Linked DNA regions of Homo sapiens: region 2 is linked to region 1. The links are contacts of gene promoters, found by promoter capture Hi-C in human tissues and cell types (Jung and others, 2019). All regions are on one chromosome and are shown on one strand. Each heading gives the region's core, a stretch centred on a gene start or on the middle of the fragment in contact. The rest is flanking DNA. Distances are from core to core; before and after follow the strand shown. Region 1 holds the start of GPIHBP1 (glycosylphosphatidylinositol anchored high density lipoprotein binding protein 1). Region 2 has its middle 29 kb from the start of LY6L.

What was found. The method cuts DNA at HindIII sites, captures the fragments that hold promoters and counts their contacts. A contact is called where the count stands out against the background at its distance.
Region 2: a contact is called between a fragment that was not itself captured here and the fragment with the promoter of GPIHBP1 in region 1, in 3 of the 25 tissues and cell types used here (H1 embryonic stem cells, lymphoblastoid cells and mesendoderm cells).

Annotation. Positions count from the first base shown.
Region 1 is chr8:143,211,284-143,215,601 of GRCh38, reverse strand. GPIHBP1 (glycosylphosphatidylinositol anchored high density lipoprotein binding protein 1) reads right to left here and starts at 2,384. Exons shown (of 4, transcript NM_178172.6): 1 at 2,283-2,384; 2 at 1,652-1,780; 3 at 476-589; 4 at 1-343. The coding sequence starts at 2,334. The coding sequence ends at 84. The HindIII fragment of the contact is 48,923 bases long and covers 1-4,318 here.
Region 2 is chr8:143,107,912-143,112,229 of GRCh38, reverse strand. No RefSeq gene overlaps it. Among named protein-coding and RNA genes, the nearest start is that of LY6L, 29 kb to the right of the region's middle. The HindIII fragment of the contact is 5,687 bases long and covers 1-4,318 here.

The DNA of each region.
Region 1 (4,318 bases), core at 1,135-3,634:
TGCAGGGGCAGGAGGGGAAGGTACCAGACAGAGTGCTGGCAGGGCCGGGGGTGAGCCGGGTGGGGGTGGGGAGGGGCCGTGGGTCAGGGTCTCCTGGCCCCCATTGCTCCAAGGCCGGCAAGGAGGTTGAGCAGGAGGGCTGCGCCCACAGTTTCGGAGCTGCCCCGGGGGCCGCCTGCCCCCTTGCCTGTTGGGTCCTGGACTCGGGAGCTTTGCCAGGGTGGGACATTGCACAGGCTGGACTGGCAGCAGGTCATGGTCACCTGGGTCCCCTCCACCGTCTTGGTGATGGGCTGGCAGCTGTCTGTGCACCACGTGGAGTGGGTGGTCAGGAGGCCTGACTCTGGGAAGGGGAGTGGGGAACAAGTGCTGAGGATGGGCGGGGTCTCTGAGGTGGCTCTGCAGGGCTCTGTTCCGGGCCCCTGGCTTTCCCGCCGCCTGGGGGTGCATGTGCTGCGGCCCCACGCCCACTTACCGGTGTTCCCGTGGGCAATGAGGGTTGTGCAGGTCTGGCCATGTGAGCAGTTCTGCGTCAGGTTGCAGCGCTCGTCCCTGGGCAGGGACTTGCAGGTGTAGCACCGCAGCAGCACTGGGGACAAGGCGGGCTCAGGCCGAGGCCGGGCCCCCCAGGGTCTCCTCCCACGTCCCTGTCCACCTCCCCGTTCTCAGCTGTGCTCCCAAAGCCTAGCCTGGTGAGCCTCCAGCACCCACTGCTCAGATGGGCGGGCGACCCCTGACTTGGTCCTGTAAGCTGTGCTGTGTGCGTGAGCCTGTGTGTTTAGGGGGCAAGGGATTGCGGGTCAGGCAGGGCGAACTTCCCATCATCACTCACGTCCTGCGACAATGCTGCCCAGGCTCCTGCCGTGGTCACAGAAACCTGGAGGTGGGTCTGACTCAGTCCTGCCTCCAGGAGCACCAGGCCTGGCAGAGGAGGGCCTCACAGGGGACACCTCGTGGGTGTGTGGGGCAGGGCTCGTGCTGAGGGCAGGCTTGGGGCTCCTGGGAGGGGGGTGGGCTGTGTGTGGTGGGGCATGCTGGGGGCCCTGGCTAGGGAGGGGCTGTGTGTGGTGGGGCACGCTGTGGTCCCTGGCTAGGGAGGGGCCGGCCCTCGGGTTGGATGCGGCGATTTGCTCTGCTTTTCTCGGGATGGGAGAGAGCAGAGGGTGGCCCACGTGTAGGGGTGTGTCAGGTGGGCAGTGAGGGTGGGCTCTTCTTAGCCCTACTCTGCTCTGCTCTAAGCGGTTCCCTGGCTCCCCAGCCCGCAGCAGCCAATCCAGCCCTCCCCTGTACAGGACCGGCCCACCCTGCTGCTCTCTCTGCCCCACAAAACTGAACCCTACCCTGGGGCCTCTGTGCTTGTGTCTCCACCCTAGGCCCCCACTGAGCCCTTCTCTGCCTGGTGAACTCCTATTTAACCTCTACATCCTGGCACCACTGACCCTCCCAGCTGGTGGCTTCTTCCCCTGTTCCCTACTCTGGAAGGCAACTGAGTGTCATGGTGAGCAGCAGTGAGGGGTGTACTGAGTGTCCCCCACTCTGCTGGAGGCAAGCTCACAGCAGGACTGTGGCCTGCTGGCTTCCATCACACAGCCCCGCCCAGAATGCTCCAGGCAGATCAGGCAGCAGGGCTCTGGGGTTGGGGCGGCCATACCTCTGCTCCTGCCACCAGGGAGCCTGTTGGTCTCCTCCTCTTCCACCTCATCCTCATCTTCCTCGTCGTAGTCATCTGGCCCGTGGTCCTCGTCCTCTTCCTCTTCCTCCTGCTGTGTCTGCCCTCTCCCTGGCCGTGCAGGGATGCTTGTAAGCCTCAGCTACCCGGGTATGGAGGACACCTGCTCTGGGCAAGCATCGTGCCCCCAACTCCTTGGCCCTCCCCAGCCATCCTCGGGCCCCAGGGTGGCTGGGGAGGGCCCCTACCCTGAACACCCTACTCACCCTACTCACTGTCCTGCAGCCTACTCACCCTACTCACTGTCCTACTACCCTACTCACCCTACTCACTGTCCTGCAGCCGAGTGTGCCCTGGCATTGTAGTTACAACAGCAGCTGCTGTGGGCTGGCCCTTTATGGTAGCCCCTCCCCGCACCCCACATAAACAGGGGCGCAGATATTTGGGGACTCTCGGGGACCCAGGCCAGCTTCCATCCATGCTGCTCTGGGCTGGGGACTCCAGCCTCATCCCCTCCTTCTTCCTAAGCCCCTGCTGGGGGTCCCTGGAGGTCCCTGTGCTCCAGGACTGCTGTTGCTGCCCCCTCACCGCAGGGTTACCCTTTGCCCCGCACCTGGCCGCCCGAACAGCAAGAGGGCAAGCAGGACAGCCCCGAGCGCCTTCATCTCGCCGGACGCTGCTGTGTCCCTGACTCTGAGTCCTCCCGCAGGGCTCTGGAGCTGCGGTAAGTGGGATGAAGGGCATTGCCGTGGGCTTCCTAGTGGCCCCCACCAGCTCCAGCCTCAAACAATGGGCCTCACACTGGTCCCCAGCTCCAGGCGCCAGGCCAGGGACTGTTGTTTCCCTCCAGGACATCTGGGGCCAGAGGGGAAGGAGAAGTCATTGTGGTTGGCCTTGGAACGTCCTGTGCACCCGTGCCACGGCAGGTGGAAGGTGGTGCTGGCCCTCGCCTGGCTTGCCGCTCAGTGCCTCAGCCCTGCAGTGCAGGGCAGGGAGCCTCGCCCCGGAATGGGCCATGCCTGACACCCCTCAACCCCATGTCTGGGCTCCATAGTCACAGGACCTTGGGGTCACAGACCCTCTATTTGCTGGTCACTGGCCAAGCATCGTCATCCTAGAGTCAGCATCACACCCAGGCCCCTTTAAGAGCATTTAAGTAAAAACACAGTCAATGCCCTCAAGCTAAGGCTGCGTGCTCACCTCCTCCTCACCCACACTCAGCAATGCACTGCTAGGCCCAAGGCCTCCCGGCTGCCCCTCACTATCACCTCGGGTCTTTGCCCCTGCTGCTCCATCTGCAGTGCTGTTCCTGCTGGTGTCCGGTGGAGAGCTTTCTGGAGCTCTTGGGGGCCCGCCCCCTCGGTCTCTTGCTGGGAAAGCCATCAGCACCCACCTGCCTTCTGGCCTTGTGTGAGAGACGGGCTGCTCTGGGAGAGGCTTGGAAAGCCCAGGTCGCTCCCTGAGGCCACCCCCTCCTCTCAAGACCCCACCCAAGCCCTTGGGGGGTGCTGATGCAGAGTGCAGAGTCGAGGCTCTGAGCTGCCCCTCTCCCAAGGGCAGCAGAGGGGTGGGGCAGCGGCAGGGGCTGGACGTCCGGAGCCAGGGTCAAGCCTGAGCGTCTCTGTGTGCCTTGGTGCTTGGGCCAGGCACTTCACCTACTGAGGCCTCAGTTTCCCCGACTGTCAATGGGTGGGGTGGGGCATTTTCTGGCCGGCCACCTGTAACAGAGGTTGAGTTGGTTCTGGAGTGAGCTACCTGGGTTTAAGACCCGGTTCCTCCTTCCCCCGGCTGTGGGTTCTGGACTAGCCCCTTGGGTTCCCCAGGCCTCAGCTCCCTCATAGGGTGAGGTGACCATCAAGGGTCAGTACCTGCTGGGCTTAGGACAGCGCCTGAGGCTGGGAATACCTGTCTCTAATGTCCCAGCCACCGAGTCAACCATCCTTCCTTAATTCACCTGAACCTGTCATTCTTTCCACTCTACCGGCACCCACCCAGCATCTAGCCCTTCCCCAGCCAAGGCTGCAAGGTCACTTGCCAAGCCAGGGTCTCCCATAGTGGTGCCCACGCCACAGCCGGACACGCCCCGCCAGCCCCAAACTCTTCATACCTGATGCCTGTCCCCCCCAGCCCCGTCCCGCCCCGCCCCGCCCCGCCCTTCCCTGCCCCTCCGCGCGTGGCCCCACCCCCACCCGCCTCCCTGCGCCCTCTCGCCCTCGGCCCGCCTCCCCCACGCCCCGCCTCCCCCACTGCCCCGCCTCCCCCACTGCCCCGCCTCCCCCACTGCCCCGCCTCCCCCCACGCCCCGCCTCCCCCACTGCCCCGCCTCCCCCACTGCCCCGCCTCCCCCCACGCCCCGCCTCCCCCACTGCCCCGCCTCTCTCACGCCCCGCCTCCCCCCACGCCCCGCTTCCCTGGTGCCCCGCCTCCCCCACACCTGTCTACCCCATGCCCCGCCTCCCCCACTGCCCCTACTTCCCGTCGCCCCGCCTCCCCATCGCCCCGCCCCCATTCGCCCCTTCTCCCCAGCGTCCCACCTCCCTGTCGACCCGCCTCTCCTGTGCCCCGCCTCCCCCGTGCACCGCCTCCCGTCATCTTCACCCCTCCTCCCCCACGCCCCGCCTCCCTGTCGCCCCTCTTCCCTGGTGCCCC
Region 2 (4,318 bases), core at 821-3,320, 100 kb after region 1:
TTGCTGGTACGGATAATAAAGTCTCACTCTCTTTCTATCACACCTCATTATTATTTTGGCTTCTTTCTACAAGTGGTGAGCAGCCTCACCCTTCTGCTGGTCACAAGTGCAGCAGAATGGAAGAGCACGTGTGGGCTGATGTGAGACCCACAGCTCACTGCTGAACAATGGCAGATGAGTGTGTGTGATCCAGACGCACAGATTATTCCTGAGGGAACGGCCAGCCTGGTGGGCTGGATAAAAGGCACTGTAAGAGAAGGGGACCACCCAACTTTCCCCATAAACGCCAAGTGGAGCACCCCCGATGAAGCAGCTGATGTGCTTCGTAAGCAAGCCATGTGGGACTGACTTTATGATGACCGGGATATTCACGGCTGAGTATGCCCAGATCATGGTAAATGCTGTGGTTAAGGGGGCCCATTGGCCTGGGCACCTCATTGGGTCTCAACTTCCCCTCATGGGTCATCCAGATGCTTATAAAAACTTTAGGCTAATTAATAAAATTATTGGGAAAGGCAAAAGGGAGTCCAAGGACTCATCCTAGGAAGGGGAAAATTTTTAAACGATTAGTTTTAAATAGGTAAAAAATGGGCCAGGCCTGGTGGCTCACGCCTGTAATCTCAGCACTTTGAGGGGCAGAGGTGGGCAGACCACCTGAGATCAGGAGTTCGAGACTGGCCTGGCCAACATGGCGAAACCTCATCTCTACTAAAAATACAAAAATTAGCCAGGTGTGGTGGCGCGCACCTGTAATCCCAGCTACTCAGGAGACTGAGGGAGGAGAATTGCAGTGAGTCAAGACTGCCACTGCACTCCAGCCTGGGTGGCAGAGTAAGACTCCATCTCAAAAAAAAGGTAAAAAGTGGATGGGGTGAAACCAAGAGGAAAAAGGAAAGGAGAGAGTCATGGGGTGCATCCTAGCGGGGTGGAATCTGTACATGGTTGTTAAGCAATGGAATGAATAATGGGGGGTTATTCACAAAGGTCTTAATACAACACTATCGAAAGTTGGGTGAACAAAGGGAGCCCCCGCTGGTCCCTCAACAGTAAAGAGCTCCAAAACAGTTTTTGCCAGATTGGAGAAGGCACTCTAACTATAAAAATTGGAAGGCAAAAGTTACACTGAGCAAACTGACCAACAATTGCGGGGGCCAATGTTGAGGTGGGTTAATCAAGATAAGATTGACAGAAGGGCCAGGGTCCCTTGGATCAAGCCCCTGTGGGGCACCCACATCCTTTTTCACAAGAGAGGGTAAAATGGTCTGGAGGTGGGAAAAAGAAGTTCCTGGGAGCAGAACAGAAAGACGTCGAGTTATGAAAGTCGACTTGTGTGATAGAGTTATGAAAGCCGAGATGTTTAAACAGGCTTTATGTAAGGCATTACATATCCTTTACCTAAATGCTTTATGAAAATGGATATTGAAGCTGGTACAGTGGTTCACACCTGTAATCCTAGCACTTTGGGAGGCCGAGGTGGGCGGATCACTTGGGGTTAGGAGTTCAAGACCACCCTGACCAACATGATGAAACCCCATCTATACTAAAAATACAAAAATTAGCCGGGCATGGTGGCATGCACCTGTAGTCCCAGCTATTGGGGAGGCTGAGGCAGGAGAATTGCTTGAACCCAAGAGGCAGAGGCTGCAGTGAGCCGAGATTGTGCCATTGCACTCCAGCCTGGGCAATAGAGACTCAGGAAAAAAAAAAAAAAGGAAAATGGAAAATGGATATTGTACGTGGACTGGGGAAACCCCTACCTACTACTGCAAAAGTAAAGGCATGAAAAAATCAACGAAAAGAGTCAAACTGTAAAATATTGGAAGAGATTTATTCTGAGCCAAATATGAGAGACTGTGGCCCATGACACGGCCTCAGGAGACCGTGAGAACAAGTGCCCAAGGTGTTTGGGCCACAACTTGGTTTTATAAATTTTAGGGAGCCATGAGACACCAATCAATACAGGGAAGACATACATTTGTTCGATCAGGAAAGGTGGGACAACTTGAAACAGGGACTTCCAGGTCATAGGTAGATTCAAAGATTTACTGATTGGCAATTGGTTGAAGGAGTTACTATCTAAAGACCTGGAATCAAAAGAAGGAATGTCTGGGTTAATGAGGGATTGTGGTGACCAAGTTCCTATTACACAGAGAAAGCCTCCAGGTAGCTTCAGAGAGAACAGATTGTAAATGTTTCTTACCAGAGTTGATTCTCTCTTGAATCAGGGAAAAGTCCTGAAAAAGGAAAAGGATTCTCTTCAGAATGCAGCTTTTCCCCACAAGAGAAAGCTTTGCAAGGCTATTTCAAGACATGGCAAAGAAACACAATTTGCGGTAAAATACTTCAATTTCATTCAGTGAATCCTTCGCTTGGCTTCCTACCCTTGAGGCTTTTAATAAGTTGAGTCCAAAATTCCCTAAAAAAGTTCCAGCAAAGCCAACTTAAAAAGAGCCGACCAGCTTAGGCAACATGCTGAGACCCTGTCTCTACAAAACATAAAAAATGAGCTGGGTGTGGTGGGGTGTGCCAAGGGTCCCAGCTACTCGGGAGGCTGAGGCAGGAGGAGTGTTTGAGCCTGAGAGGCTGAGGCTGCAGTGAGCTCTGATTGCACCATTGTACTCCAGCATGGCTGACAGAGCAAGCCCCTGTCACAGGGAAAAAAAAAAAAAAAAAAAGCCTCTAGGGCTGGTAACTATTCTTGCCACGCTTCATGCAAATAGGCCAAGTATAATGAGACCGAAATTTATTTTGCAAATAAACTGGTCCTACTATGATTTATCCTTGGTAGAAATGGGGAAACTAGAGAGAGAAAAATTTAGATCCTAGCTCTGACCGTTGTTTTTGAGTTATTATTTGCTTACAATTTGGGCTAATCCTGAATCATTCACTGGCTACAAGTCTCTAAAGAAAAACCGGGTTTTAGTTTCCTTCACGATGCTTTTAGTCGGCTTCTTAATGAAATAGGTTCTTTTTTGTTACTGTTCTGAAATACAAATTCCCTTTTGATTGTCATCCTTGTGTGCAAATTATTAATGTTATGTATCTCTTGTTGTTTTATTTTCTCTGAGAAAACAGAAGTCGTGGTATCCTGAAGACTAGAGATGATTCAACAGCCGGTGACCCTCCCTCACTGGGACTCTCACCGGGCCCGACCTGTTTTCCGACGCCAAGGCACCGCTGCTGAAGCCAGACAACCCCAAGCACCCTCCCTAAGGCTCAGGGACCATCGCGGAAGAGGAGGGCAGGTGAGACGGTCAGAGCTGGATTAGTGGGGCGGCGCGGGCGGATCATGGAGGCCGAAGCCGCTCCATCTTGGACGCTAGTTTGTCGTGTTGGCTTCTGATTAACCTCAGTTCCGGGAATGCCTCTGAGAGTTCCCGTTCATCTGTTGTTCCTTGTGTAAGAGCACATCCTTATCACAAGTCCTGGCCTTAGGGAAATTCCTGCCCACCCCCTCTGAGGCATGTCCCCTGCACTATGGCAATAGAAGCCCTGGGCCTGGGTGGTGACGGCGCAGGGAGCCGCCATCTTGACTCACCGTAGCCTGAGACTGACATGGCTTCTGTTTCTAAGTCCCTATTAAATGTTTCTTTTTAAGAACTGAATTTGTGGGCCAGGCGCGGTGGCTCACGCCTGTAATCTCAGCACTTTGGGAGACCGAGGTGGGCATTTCACGAGGTCAGGAGATCGAGACCATCCTGGCTAACCCGGTGAAACCCCGTCTCTACTAAAAATACAAAAAATTAGCCGGGCGTGGTGGCGGGCGCCTGTAGTTCCAGCTACTCGGGAGGCTGAGGCAGGAGAATGGCGTGAACCCGGGAAGCGGAGCTTGCAGTGAGCCGAGATGGCGCCACTGCACTCCAGCCTGGGCGACAGAGCAAGACTCTGCCTCAAAAGAAAAAAAAAAAAAAAGATGTGAATTTGTCAGCCTCTTTCTTTGGCCTGTCAGCTTCCTTGGACTTTGAGGTAGATGTGTTTGGACTTGTTCACTGTGAGACAGTGGCTGAATAGTGTTCTTCTGTATACACTTAAACATTCTGTTTATCCGTCATTTGTTGAGGGATATTTGGGTTGCTTCTACCATTTGGTACTTGTGAATATTGCTGCATATATTAGGCTGTTCTTTTGTTGCTGTAAAGAAATACCTGAGACTGGTATTTGTGTTTGTCTCGCAGTTCTGCAGGCTGGACAGTAAGCATGGCACTGGCATTGGCTTGCGGAGGCTTCTCAGGAGGCCTCGGAGAGCTTTTATTGATGGTGGAAGTGAGAGATGGCGCGTCCCATGATGGGAGCAGGAGGAACATAGTGGGGGGAGACG